Linked DNA regions of Homo sapiens: regions 2, 3 and 4 are each linked to region 1. Evidence: promoter capture Hi-C in human tissues and cell types (Jung and others, 2019). All regions are on one chromosome and are shown on one strand. Each heading gives the region's core, a stretch centred on a gene start or on the middle of the fragment in contact. The rest is flanking DNA. Distances are from core to core; before and after follow the strand shown. Region 1 holds the start of PCGF6 (polycomb group ring finger 6). Region 2 overlaps TRIM8 (tripartite motif containing 8). Region 3 overlaps SUFU (SUFU negative regulator of hedgehog signaling). Region 4 overlaps WBP1L (WW domain binding protein 1 like).

Evidence for each region. The method cuts DNA at HindIII sites, captures the fragments that hold promoters and counts their contacts. A contact is called where the count stands out against the background at its distance.
Region 2: a fragment that was not itself captured here is called in contact with the fragment with the promoter of PCGF6 in region 1 in 1 of the 25 tissues and cell types used here (spleen).
Region 3: a contact is called between a fragment that was not itself captured here and the fragment with the promoter of PCGF6 in region 1, in 1 of the 25 tissues and cell types used here (dorsolateral prefrontal cortex).
Region 4: a fragment that was not itself captured here is called in contact with the fragment with the promoter of PCGF6 in region 1 in 1 of the 25 tissues and cell types used here (dorsolateral prefrontal cortex).

Annotation. Positions count from the first base shown.
Region 1 is chr10:103,349,770-103,352,634 of GRCh38, forward strand. It overlaps PCGF6 (polycomb group ring finger 6), which reads right to left and starts at 1,371. Exons shown (of 10, transcript NM_001011663.2): 1 at 938-1,371. The coding sequence starts at 1,297. RefSeq lists an enhancer at 599-1,104 and a silencer at 1,270-1,499. The HindIII fragment of the contact is 14,072 bases long and covers 1-2,865 here.
Region 2 is chr10:102,656,526-102,659,489 of GRCh38, forward strand. TRIM8 (tripartite motif containing 8) reads left to right here. Exons shown (of 6, transcript NM_030912.3): 6 at 222-1,793. The coding sequence ends at 829. Among named protein-coding and RNA genes, the nearest start is that of TRIM8, 14 kb to the left of the region's middle. The HindIII fragment of the contact is 6,582 bases long and covers 1-2,964 here.
Region 3 is chr10:102,506,134-102,509,122 of GRCh38, forward strand. The region is part of intron 1 of SUFU (SUFU negative regulator of hedgehog signaling); the gene reads left to right. Among named protein-coding and RNA genes, the nearest start is that of SUFU, 3.7 kb to the left of the region's middle. The HindIII fragment of the contact is 3,584 bases long and covers 1-2,989 here.
Region 4 is chr10:102,787,803-102,790,820 of GRCh38, forward strand. The region is part of intron 1 of WBP1L (WW domain binding protein 1 like); the gene reads left to right. Among named protein-coding and RNA genes, the nearest start is that of CYP17A1-AS1, 43 kb to the right of the region's middle. The HindIII fragment of the contact is 4,714 bases long and covers 1-3,018 here.

The DNA of each region.
Region 1 (2,865 bases), core at 121-2,620:
CAGCCAAATTATTGTTTCAAAAGGATCTTTACGCTGGGCGCAGTGGCTCACGCCTGTAATCCCAGCACTTTGGGAGGCCGAGGCGGGCGGATCACGAGGTCAGGAGATCGAGACCATCCTGGCTAACACGGTGAAACCCCGTCTCTACTAAAAATACAAAAAATAAGCCGGGCGTGGTGGCGGGCGCCTTGTAGTCCCAGCTACTCTAAAGGCTGAGGCTGGAGAATCGCTTGAACCTGGGAGGCGGAGGTTGCAGTGAGCCGAGATCGCGCCACTGCACTCCAGCCTGGGCGACAGAGCGAGACTCCGTCTCAAAAACAAAACAAAACAAAACAAAACAAAAGGATCTTTACTGCCTAGTAAGCAGTAGCTTCAATAATTATACAGGACAGGCAACGTGGCTCACGCATGTAATCTTTCGGAAGGCCAGAGAGGGAGAATCTCTTGAACCCAGGAGTTCGAGAACAGCCTGGGAACATAGGGAGCCCTCCTCGCTACAAAAAAAAAAAAAAATGTTTAATTAGCCCGGCGTGGTGGCGCGTGCCTGTAGTCCCAGCTACTCCGGAGGCTGAGGCGGGAGGATCGCCTGAGGCCAGGAGTTGGAGGCTGCAGTGAGCCATGGTCGCGCCACTGCACTCCAGCCTGGGAGACCCTGTCTCAAAATAATTATAATTATTAACAGAACGAATGAGTTGGACTCGCAGAGCCTAAGTGACCTGCAAGAACTTCACAAAATAAGCGGGTAAAGACCCAGGCCGGGCCGGAGGCCTGTCGGCGCCACACGCCTAGGCAGCCGGGGCAGAGGTCGGGGGAGGTCCGCTCCAGTGCTCCGCGCGGCGGCGGCGCACTAGGATCGGGCCGGCGCCCGGCAGACGAGGGCCAGCTACGTCCCTGACGCCGCTTGGGCCCAGCGGGGTCGCGCGGGGGCTCTAAATACCTCCTCCTCGTCCTCCGAGTCCTGCCGGCCTCCCTCCAGCCTCAACGAGAAGTGACTCATGTCCTCCTCCTCCTCCTCTTCTTCCTCCTCCAGCTCCTCTTCTTCTTCCAACTCCTCGTCCTCGTCCTCGAAGCGGCCTCTGAAGCGGCCCAGGCTGCGCTCCGGCTCCAGCTCAGGGGGCCGGGAGCCGGAGCAGCCGGGAGCCCCCGTCTCAGACAGAGGCGCCGGTCCCTCCTCACCCGCTGCGGGTGCAGGGGTGAGGGCGGGCGGGGAGACAGGAGGCGGAGGCGGCAAGGCTGCAGCTCCCTCGGTTTTGGCAGCGCCTACGCTGCCCGCCGTCACCACCGCGACCCCCTCCATGGTCGGGAGAGACACCAGGCGAGGCGAGGCGGCGGGAGAGCGCGGGAGTTCGGCCGGCCTCGGACGCCACCACTGCGCAGGCGCGGCAGCCTGAGGGGCTCGCCGGGAAATGTGGTTTAGCGGCCCTCACCTCCGCGGGGCGCAAACCCTGCAGCTCCGGGGCAGGCTGCGGGGCGCGCGGGCCGCACTTTAAAGGAATCTCACCAGATTTTCTCCTTGGAAGGGGACGCTCTCTTCGCCGCCTTTTAAAAACAGCAAAATTGCTACCGTTCCAAGCAACAATATTCTGTTTGCATCACCTAATTCACAGAGCACTGAACTAGGTAGCATGTGACGTTGCATCACAAATAATAATCATTTCCACTTGAGTACCAATTATGCATTTCCTCTGTGGCAAATCACCTCCATCCAAGATTATTTCCCTTAGGAAGTATAAAGTTCCTGTTCTGAAGTATGTACGTTTATTTATTTTAAGGAATTATATAGTGTATTGATACAAGGTGAAAATCTAATCACTACTCAAAGATCATCCATGTCACCCCATCCCATAAAGCCCATTATATTGAATTCGAAAAGCTTTTTTTTTTTTTTTTTGAGACAGTTTCGCTCTTGTCGCTCAGGCAGGAGTGCAGTGGCGCTCACTTGCAACCTCCGCCTCCCGGGTCCAAGCGATTCTGCCTCAGGCTCCCAAGCAGCTGGGACTACTGGCGCCTGCCACCACGCCCAGCTAACTTTTGTATTTTCAGTAGAGACAGGGTTTCACCATGTTGACCAGGCTAGTCTCAAACTTCTGATCTCAGGTGATCCACCCGCCTCAGCCTCCCAAAGTGTTGGGTTACAGGCCTGAGCCAGGGCGCCGGGCCCAACAAACATTTATTGAGGGCCTACTGTAGCAGAAACTCAGACCCACCCAGGTACAACCCACCCCATTGCCCAATTTTATTAAGAGAGGTTTGGAGTTGGCTTAACATTATTCTTGCTAGTCCGGGCGCGGTGGCTCACACCTGTAATCCCAGCACTTTGGGAGGCCGAGGCGCGCAGATCATGAGGTCAGGAGTTCAAGACCAGCCTAGCCAACATGGTGAAACCCCGTCTCTACTAAAAATACAAAAATTAGCTGGGCATGGTGGCGCGTGCCTGTAATCCCAGCTACTTGGGAGGCTAAGGCAGAAGAATCACTTGAGCCCAGGAGGCGGAGCTTGCAGTGAGCTAAGATCGTGCCACTGCACTCCAGCCTGGGCTACAGAGTGAGACTCCATCTCAAAACAAAACAAAACAAAACAAAACAAAACAAAAAACAAAAAAACCATTATCCTTGCTAAGATAATGCCAGCTAATGTCACGATGCCTGCAAGAAAGATTCGGGAAGTCAAATGCTCCTAATCAAATAATGCCTGGCAAAGTCACATTTAAGAGCTGAATGTGACCAGGCACAGTGGCTCCCGCCTGTAATCCCAGCACTTTGGGAGGCTGAGGCAAGCGGATTGCCTGAGGTTGGGAGTTAGAGACCAGCCTGACCAACATGGAGAAACCCCATCTCTACTAAAAATACAAAATTAGCCGGGCAT
Region 2 (2,964 bases), core at 1-2,500, 690 kb before region 1:
GACAGTGGGTAAGCAACATGACCTCCCCAGCCTCCATTTCTTCAGCTTAAAGTGGGGATATAACTATTCTGTACCTCCTAATGGTAGAGGAGCAAGCATCACCTGAGATGTAACATTCTTGGGCCTCTAGGTGTCAATGGTCCCCAGGTCCAACCCAGGGAGAGGAGGCCTGGGTTGCTTGGGGTGGGAGCTTTGGCGACTTTTGCCCCAACTCTCCACAGGCCCCTTCAGCACGCCGGTGCCCTTCCTGCAGAGTGTCCCCCTGTACCCTTGCGGCGTGAGCAGCTCTGGGGCGGAAAAGCGCAAGCACTCAACGGCCTTCCCAGAGGCCAGTTTCCTAGAGACGTCGTCGGGCCCTGTGGGCGGCCAGTACGGGGCGGCGGGCACAGCCAGCGGTGAGGGCCAGTCTGGGCAGCCCCTGGGGCCCTGCAGCTCCACGCAGCACTTGGTGGCCCTGCCGGGCGGCGCCCAACCAGTGCACTCAAGCCCCGTGTTCCCCCCATCGCAGTATCCCAATGGCTCCGCCGCCCAGCAGCCCATGCTCCCCCAGTATGGCGGCCGCAAGATTCTCGTCTGTTCTGTGGACAACTGTTACTGTTCTTCCGTGGCCAACCATGGCGGCCACCAGCCCTACCCCCGCTCCGGCCACTTTCCCTGGACAGTGCCCTCGCAGGAGTACTCACACCCGCTCCCGCCCACACCCTCCGTCCCCCAGTCCCTTCCCAGCCTGGCGGTCAGAGACTGGCTTGACGCCTCCCAGCAGCCCGGCCACCAGGATTTCTACAGGGTGTATGGGCAGCCGTCCACCAAACACTACGTGACGAGCTAACGCCACGCAGGCGGCGGGGCGCTGGGGAATCTTCCTCCCCAGCCCCCGGGCTCGGGAGTTATGCATCCAGAGACCTGCCCTTCTACCTTCCTCGCCTCCCCTCTTCCTCATTCCATTGCCCCAGGTCTTTTCCTTTTGGATTTTGTTTTGGTTTTGGCTTTGTTTTTGATTTTTTTTTATTATGAATCTCCTGGACGCAGAGGTGACAGTGGGAGCTGGCCTGGGCCAGGACGGCAGGTGGCCCTGGAGATGGGAAAGTGTCTGTGTCGAGGCGCTGAGCTCTCTCTCTGTTTCTCCTTTTTTCCTCTACTCCTTCCCCTTCACACCCCCGTGGCTGGAAGGAACCTCGGCTTCCCTGAAAGCTTGGGGGTCCCACCCTTCTTACCCCACCCGGGAGGAACGCCCAGGGCCCCGGGCTTGTTTCTCCTCTTGTTTTCCTTTTGGGCAGTTTGATCACTGATCGAGTAAGGAATGACCTTTAGATTGTGCGACTTTTGTTTTTGTTTTTTTAAATTTTTTTAAACCAAGAATGATTTCTCCTGCTTCCTTCTCCTCACCATCTTCCCAGACGGAGTTCAAAGGCCACTTCTCAAGCAGCTTTTGGCACCTTCAGCCTCAGAGTGGAATCTTTTAAAGACAGGACCCCTATGTCCAGGAAAGGGGAAAAGGAACTTTGCCAATGATAGTGACCACAGCAAAAGCAAATAATAATAATATTAATAATAATAAAGAGAAATAAAATAATAAAATAAAAAACAATAGCACAGCCCTTGTTGAGGTCAGCAGGGAGGAGGGGCTGCCCGGAGTTGGGTCCTTGCCTGGATTTTGACACAGCAACTTCCTGTAGTGAGCACTTTGTATGAATCGTGGACTTCCTGTTCTCAAGGCGCAGGTATTTATTCTGTATCTGTCTAGAGCACACACCAAAATCCAACCTTCTAATAAACATGATGGCGCAGTCCCACTCCCTGCCTCGCCTGTTCCCCTATCCCCCCCAGGCCTGGGATCTTCAGGCGTCGGTGTGGGGAGGGGCCCCTGCCCTCCTTGCCTTGATTTTGCTCCCCTGGGTCCAGCTGGTTCCAGGCCTGTGAATGTCAGTTCGTCGGGCACTGACTCCGTCTGCTCTTGGCCTTGGGTTCATTTGACAAATATTTGCCCAGGGCCTCCCAGGCCCAGCCCCATGCCACCTGGGCCCCGGCATCTCTTTGAGGTTCTGCCAATGTGCTCTTAGCTGAGGACGAAGGAGGAACACCTTTCTATGAGTCTTGCAAAGTTTACCTCCTTCAGGCCACAAATATTTGAGTGCACACTACGTGCCAGGCACTGTGCAGGGCTGCAGGCATAGAGACAGAATGTAATCTAGCTGGGCCTTGGACCCCATAGGGAGAGGGGACCACTCAGGTCCATACTTCCTTTGGACTTGGGGCTTTGGCCTTGGGAGGGGTGGAGGTGGGGTGGCAAGATGAAAAAGACATCCTGCCCCCATCCACTTCGGCAGAGCTTCTCAAAGTCTCAAGCATGTCTTGGGAGCTTGTTAAAAGGGCCGATTCCTTGCTGTGGCTCACGCCTGTAATCCTGACATTTTGGGAGGCCAAGGCAAATTGCCTGAGCTCAGGGGTTTGAGACCAGCCTGGGCAACATGTCGGAACCCTGTTTCTACAAAAAATACAAGAATTAGTTGGGCGTGGTGGGGCACACCACACCTGTGGTCCCAGCTACTCTGGGACTGAGGTGGGAGAACTGCTTGAGCCTGGGAGGCAGAGGTTGCAGTAGGTCTAGATCAAGTCACTGCACTCCAGCCTGTGCAACAAAACAACAGAGCAAGACCCTGTCTCAAAAAAAAAAAAAAAAAAAGGGTAAGGGTGCTGATTCCTGAGGCCTAGCTTAGACTCATCGGGAATCTCTGAGAGCCCAGGAATTTGCATTTTTAACTCTATTCTCCCATATCCTGGGTTTAGAGAAGTGCTGCCATTGTGGTGGTCAGGGTCCTCCCTGCTGCTTGTCACAGAGGCCACTGCGGGGAGAGGAAGCTGGGACACCCCCAAGGCCCTTCTCTGGAGAGGGGCCTCACCTTCAAAAAGGCTCCGGTTGTTGCCTGATGCTCTGCACAGAGCTGTAAGTCCGCAGCCCATGCA
Region 3 (2,989 bases), core at 1-2,500, 840 kb before region 1:
CAGATTCAGGCAACTATTTTTATGTCACCCAAGTAGCCATAAAGGATAGAATTGTATGTAAAAGGTATGAAAGCATGTGCAAAGGACTAAGGGCAATTTTTTTTTCCTTCCTGCTGCAAGCTTGTTAACAGCCATATCTTCAGAGATGGGCCAACATGTGATAATGAAGAAAAGGGATTATACAGCACTTTGTGAAAGCCCTTCCTAGATGCAGAAAAGTATAAAGAGAAACAGCACAGTGACTGGTACTTTCTTTTTTTTTTGAGACAGAGTTTTGCTCTGTCACCCAGGCTGGAGTGCAGTGGCACGATCTTGGCTTACTGCAACCTCTGTCTCCCGGTTTCAAGCGATTCTCGTGCCTCAGCCTCCCAAGTAGCTGATATTACAGGCACACGCCACCTTGCCCAGCTAATTTTTGTATTTTTAGTAGAGGCAGAGTTTCACCATGTTGGCCAGGCTGGTCTCGAACTCCTGACCTCAAGTGATCAACCCACCTCGGCCTCCCAAAGTGCTAGGATTACAGGCGTGAGCCAGTGCGACCAGCCATCAGTGACTGGTACTTTCTAAGATGTGGAGGGGTTTGCAAAAATAAGATCCTGAAATTCATTTATATTCCTCACATTTGGGATCCCACGAGGTTTCTAGCAGGATGACTGACCCAGGCTGTCTGGGTCTGTCTGTGGCCCAGGGTAGCTTGGGATTCATTTTGCAATAGCAGTGTGGCTCTGTGACTGGTGATCCCTGAGTAGTGGGGACATTCTAACTGAAAGCTGAGACTTTGGTGAGCAAGGATCAAAGCAGAGAGGCAGAACCTGTACTCATGGCCCACTTCAGTCCTGCAACTGCCCTGCAGAGAGAAGTTGGGTGTTCAAGGAATTAAGTTGAGGGATGCCCTGGGACCTTGGATAACATCATTTGCTAAGTGTAAAATGCGATTTTTTTCCACATACTCATCTGGCCTCTGAGTAGTAAGTAAACAGAATACTCTGTGCTTGGGGACAGGGTTAATTTTATCTGACTCTTGGTAGTTCCTTGCAGTTGGAGTTTGAAGGTTAAGCTTCTCTCCTTGATGTGACACCTTGTGGGAGACTTGGTGAGAAAGAGGGCTGCAGGGATGCTGCAGATGGAGCAGAGAATGGTAAACACAGTTTTGCAGCTTGGTGCAGGATGGACCTAGGCTGTAGCGGGGCAGGTTTGGAAATTTGCAGCAGGAAACTGGAGCAGGTATGGGGCCTGTAGTGGCTCTCATCTGCTCTGGAGTTCTGTAGCTCTAATGGGGTCTTTCCAGGGATCTCTACTCTTTTCTTTCTTCCCTTGCCCCACAAACTTTTCTAAATCCAACCTGTTGTAGAATTAGTCAAGTGATTTGTTGAAATCAGTTAAGGCAGACATGGAGAGTTGTCCCTCTTCCTCTGTTGAGATGCTAAGCTATTTGTAGCAACTTTCTTAAAAGTTCTATAAATAACTTAGCATTTCCTAACAGAGAATAGGGATTTCTATCCACAAAGGCAAATAATATCCTGGTGAAAGAGGACGAAACAAGACCAACTGGTTTTAAATAGTGTTTAAATTGCCTGGTGCTGGCACCATTGACTGGGATCACTTGTAACATGTCTTTTATTTGGTTGTTAGCTTTCCACCAGCATGCTATCCCAGTTGCAAAGTGTACTCCATCGATGTCCCAGGGGCAGGTGAAGCTTTTGCAGTCTGTGGAATGGTCAGATGTTTGAGGCAGCTCAAATGCCGTGTTTGTGGGCTAAATGCAGACTTCCTTCCACTGATGGTTTCTATTTGGTCTATTTCTCTAGCTACCAAAATTTCTTATCCATTTTTTTTTTTTTTTTTTTTTTTAGACAAAGTCTCACTCTGTCACCCAGGCTGGAGTGCAGTGGCGCAATCTTGGCTCCCTGCAACCTCTGCCTCTGTTGTCCAGGCGATTCTCCTGCCTCAGCCTCTCAAATAGCAAATAGCTGGGATTACAGGCACCTGCCACCACACCTGGCTAATTTTTTGTATCTTTAGTAGAGATGGGGTTTCACCATGTTGGCCAGGCTGGTCTCAAACTCCTGACCTCAAGTAATCCACCCACTTCGGCCTCCCAAAGTGCAGAGATTACAGGTGTGAGCCACCGTGCCCGGCCAAAACAGGATTTTTTTTAAAAAGCACTGATTACTAAAGGGAACTCTTATTGTATTAAATCCTCAGAGTGAGATAATAACTGAATCTCTTCCGCAACTCCTTCTCAGTTGAATGGTGGGGGAAATTTAATGTGGTCCTGAGAGGCCCCAAATCATTTACCATCCCAGCTCTACCTTTGATGTGGCAGTCTCTCCTGGGATCATTTTCTGGGTGCAGATGCTCACAGGGCGCAGTTTGACTCCTTCTGCAGTTCTCTGTGCAGAACTAAGTTAAGCCTAAGTTTGGCCTTTGTCACTTGCAATGATAAGAGACCAGCTTTGGTCTATGGGGTGCAGGCTGGTGTCAGCACAGACTAGAGGCTTTGGGTTTGTTTAGAACAAACTGTAATTAACATAGGGCACAATATAGTCTTTCAGGAATTAGCTGTCTAAGAGGCTGGAGTGGAGCAGAGCCTCTGCTTCCAGGAACAATGCCCATTGGGGATGCTTGGGATGGTCTTTCAACAGAGGCCAATTGATTGACTGATGTACCTCTTGCCTTGAAGCTTGGCATGTATACAGGCACCACAGAAGAGAGACAATCCCTGCCAATCTCATTTGGGATCGGTAATTTGAAACAGGAGAAAGCAAAATGGGTAACCATCCAGTCTGTTTTATTTCTAAAAGAGGCCCAGTCTTTCAGGGGTAGGAGAAGGGAGCCTCTTGGGCTTGCAGAGTTGGGCAGCCTTAGCTGTCCATCCCTTAGTCTCATTCTGGAGAGATGTGGCCTCTGTTTAGTTACCTTTCACCCAGGTTCCTCCAGGATGGGTCCTTTAGGTTTACAAAGTAGAGCGCCTTAGCTTGACATTGTC
Region 4 (3,018 bases), core at 121-2,620, 560 kb before region 1:
CACGGTGGCTCACGCCTGTAATCCCAGCACTTTGGGAGGCCGAGGTGGGCGGATCACCTGAGGTCAGGCGTGCGAGACCAGCCTGGCCAATATGGTGAAACCCTGTCTCTATTAATAATACAAAAAATTAGCTGGGCGTGGTGGTGCACGCCTGATGTCCCAGCTACTCGGGAGGCTGAGGCAGGAGAATCACTGGAACCTGGGAGGTGGTGGTTGCAGTGAGCCGAGATCGTGCCACTGTACTCTAGCCTGAGTGACAGAGACCCTGCCTCAGGAAAAAAAAAACAAAACCAATACTATCAGGGAGAACGTGATCTTAACTTTCTTTCTTTCTTTTTTTTTTTTTGAGACAGTCTCACTCTGTCACCCAGGCTGGAGTGCAGTGGTGCGATCTCGGCTCACTGCAACCTCTGCCTCCTGGGTTCATGCCATTCTCCTGCCTCAGCCTCCCGAGTAGCTACCACGCCCGGCTAATTTTTTGCATTTTTTAGTAGAGACGGGGTTTCACAGTGTTAGCCAGGATGGTCTTGATCTCCTGATCTCATGATCCGCCTGTTTCGGCCTCCCAAAGTGCTGGGATTACAGGCATGAGCCACCACACCTGGCTGATCTTAACTTTCTAATTGTAAAAATATAGGTAAAAATATAGGTGAATACATGAAGCTTTGCCTCCTTACCACCTACAAATATGTTTCTAAGGACCTGGGCTTGAAAGTGCTGCATTTTCAGAACTTGAAGATTCTATCTAGGATAGAACAAAAATAGCTGATTCTAAGTTAAAGTTGTTTGCTGTCTTATTTAGCCATTTCAAATGTCTGCTTTATGAAAACTGCGTTATCCTTTAGCTACAGAGCATTACCAAAATCATTTAGAACTTTTTCCTAGTAGATATGCAGTGCTAGACTTTGGTCTCCTTTCTAGAAAGCCATTCCTGGTTCAAGAATGGAAGGAAAGTTTGTTTTGTTGCTTACTCTGCAAGAGCAGCCACAACCTGGCTGGGGGGGATAAATAAAGGCTCAAGGTAAAGAATAAGTATGAGAGTTGCAAAAATATTTATATATTTATTCAAGTCTCCACCATAACCTAAGGGAGGGACTAGCCAAAGCCAACAATGAATTCATAAACTGTGGTACTTTGGAGATTATTTTATTTTATTTTATTATTTATTTTTTACTGAGACGGAGTCTTGCTCTGTTGCTCAGGCTGGAGTGCAGTGGCACAATCTCGGTTTGCTGCAACCTCCACCGCCTGGGTTCAAGTGATTCTTGTGCCTCAGCCTCCTGAGTAGCTGGGACTACAGGTGCGCACAACCACGCATGGCTAATTTTTTAAATATTTTTAATAGCGATGGGTTTTCGCCATGTTGGCCAGGCTGGTCTCGAATTCGTAACCTCAGGTGATCCACCTGCCTCAGCCTCCCAAAGTGCTGGGATTACAGGCATGAGCCACTGCACCCAGCCTGGAGATTATTTTAATTGTTATACAAAGCCTATGAGATCTGACCTCAGCTGAATTCTTAGCTCCCCTTTCACACTGCTTTCCCTGAGATCACTGTACTCAGCTACACTAGTCTTCTTTCTCTTCCTTGAGCACACCAAGCTTGTTTCTGCCCTGGTGTTTTTGCGTGGATTTGATATTTCTTCTTCCTGGAACACTGTTCTCACCGGTCTGGTTAAGCTGGCTCTTTTTCAGCAGTCAGGGCTCTACTCAGATGTCACCTACTCAGAGTGGCCTTTCCTGACCACCCTATCTAAAACTCTTTGTCTCATTATCGTGTTTTATTATCCTCATGGAGCTTATTACTGCTAGTGAAATTATAATTTTGCTTGTTAATTGTCCGTCTTCCCAACTGGAACATATTTAAAAATCTTTTTGCCTTTGTCACTCTGCAGTTTCATACAGTGTACCTAGGTGTGGGCTTCTTATTATCTGGAAATTTTGTATCTTTTTTTTTTTTTTTTTGACAGTCTCACTCTGTCACCCAGGCTGGAGTGCAGTGGCATGATCTCGGCTCACTGCAACCCCCGCCTCTCAGGTTCAAGCGATTTTCCTGCCTCAGCCTCCCGAGTAGCTGGGACTACAGGCGCCCGCCACCACGCCCAGCTAATTGTATTTTTAGTAGAGATGGGGTTTCACAGTGTTAGCCAGGATGGTCTCGATCTCCTGACCTCATGATCTGCCCAACTTGGCCTCCCAAAGTGCTGGGATTATAGGCATGAGCCACCACGCCCGGCCGAAATTTTGTATCTTTAATCAGTCTTATATAGAAAATTTTTAGTTATCCCTTTAAATATTTCCTCTCCTCCATTCTTTTCTTCTCAAGCTTCTTTCTCATTTTTCATTTCCATGTTTTCTCTTGTAGAAGCACTTTGATGGTAATTTTCTCAGATCTGTTCTCTAGTTCATCAATTTCCTCTTTAACTTGGTCTCCTCTCTGTGTGACCCATCTGTTGAGTTTTTTCTTTCAATAACTATTTTTCTACAAGTTTTATCTGCCTGTTACTATTTCTTGTTTGGTAGTGTTCTTTTCTTGTGTTTTTAATTCTTTCTTTTTGGCTTTAATCATTTGAGATATGCTTGTATCTTATAGGGACTTTTTTTCAGGGGGTCTTATCCTGCTATTTGTTGAATTTGTCATCTTGTTTGTAATGGATTAGTTTTGCATACATTTTTATATTTTGGATTGTGAGCTTATCTTCAACAGAACTTTATTTTTATTTTTATTTTTGAGACAGTCTCTCACTGTCGCCCAGGCTGGAGTACAATGGTGCAATCTCGGCTCACTGCAACCTCTGCCTCCCGGGTTCAAGCAATTCTCCTGCCTCAGCGTCCGGAGTAGCTGGGATTACAGGCGCCCGCCACCACGCCCAGCTAATTTTTTTGTATTTTTATTAGAGACAGGATTTCACTATGTTGGCCAGGCTGGTCTCGAATTCCTGACCTCGTCATCCGCCCGCCTCAGCCTCCCAAAGTCCTGGAATTACAAGCGTGAGCCACCGCGCCTGGCCAACAGAACTT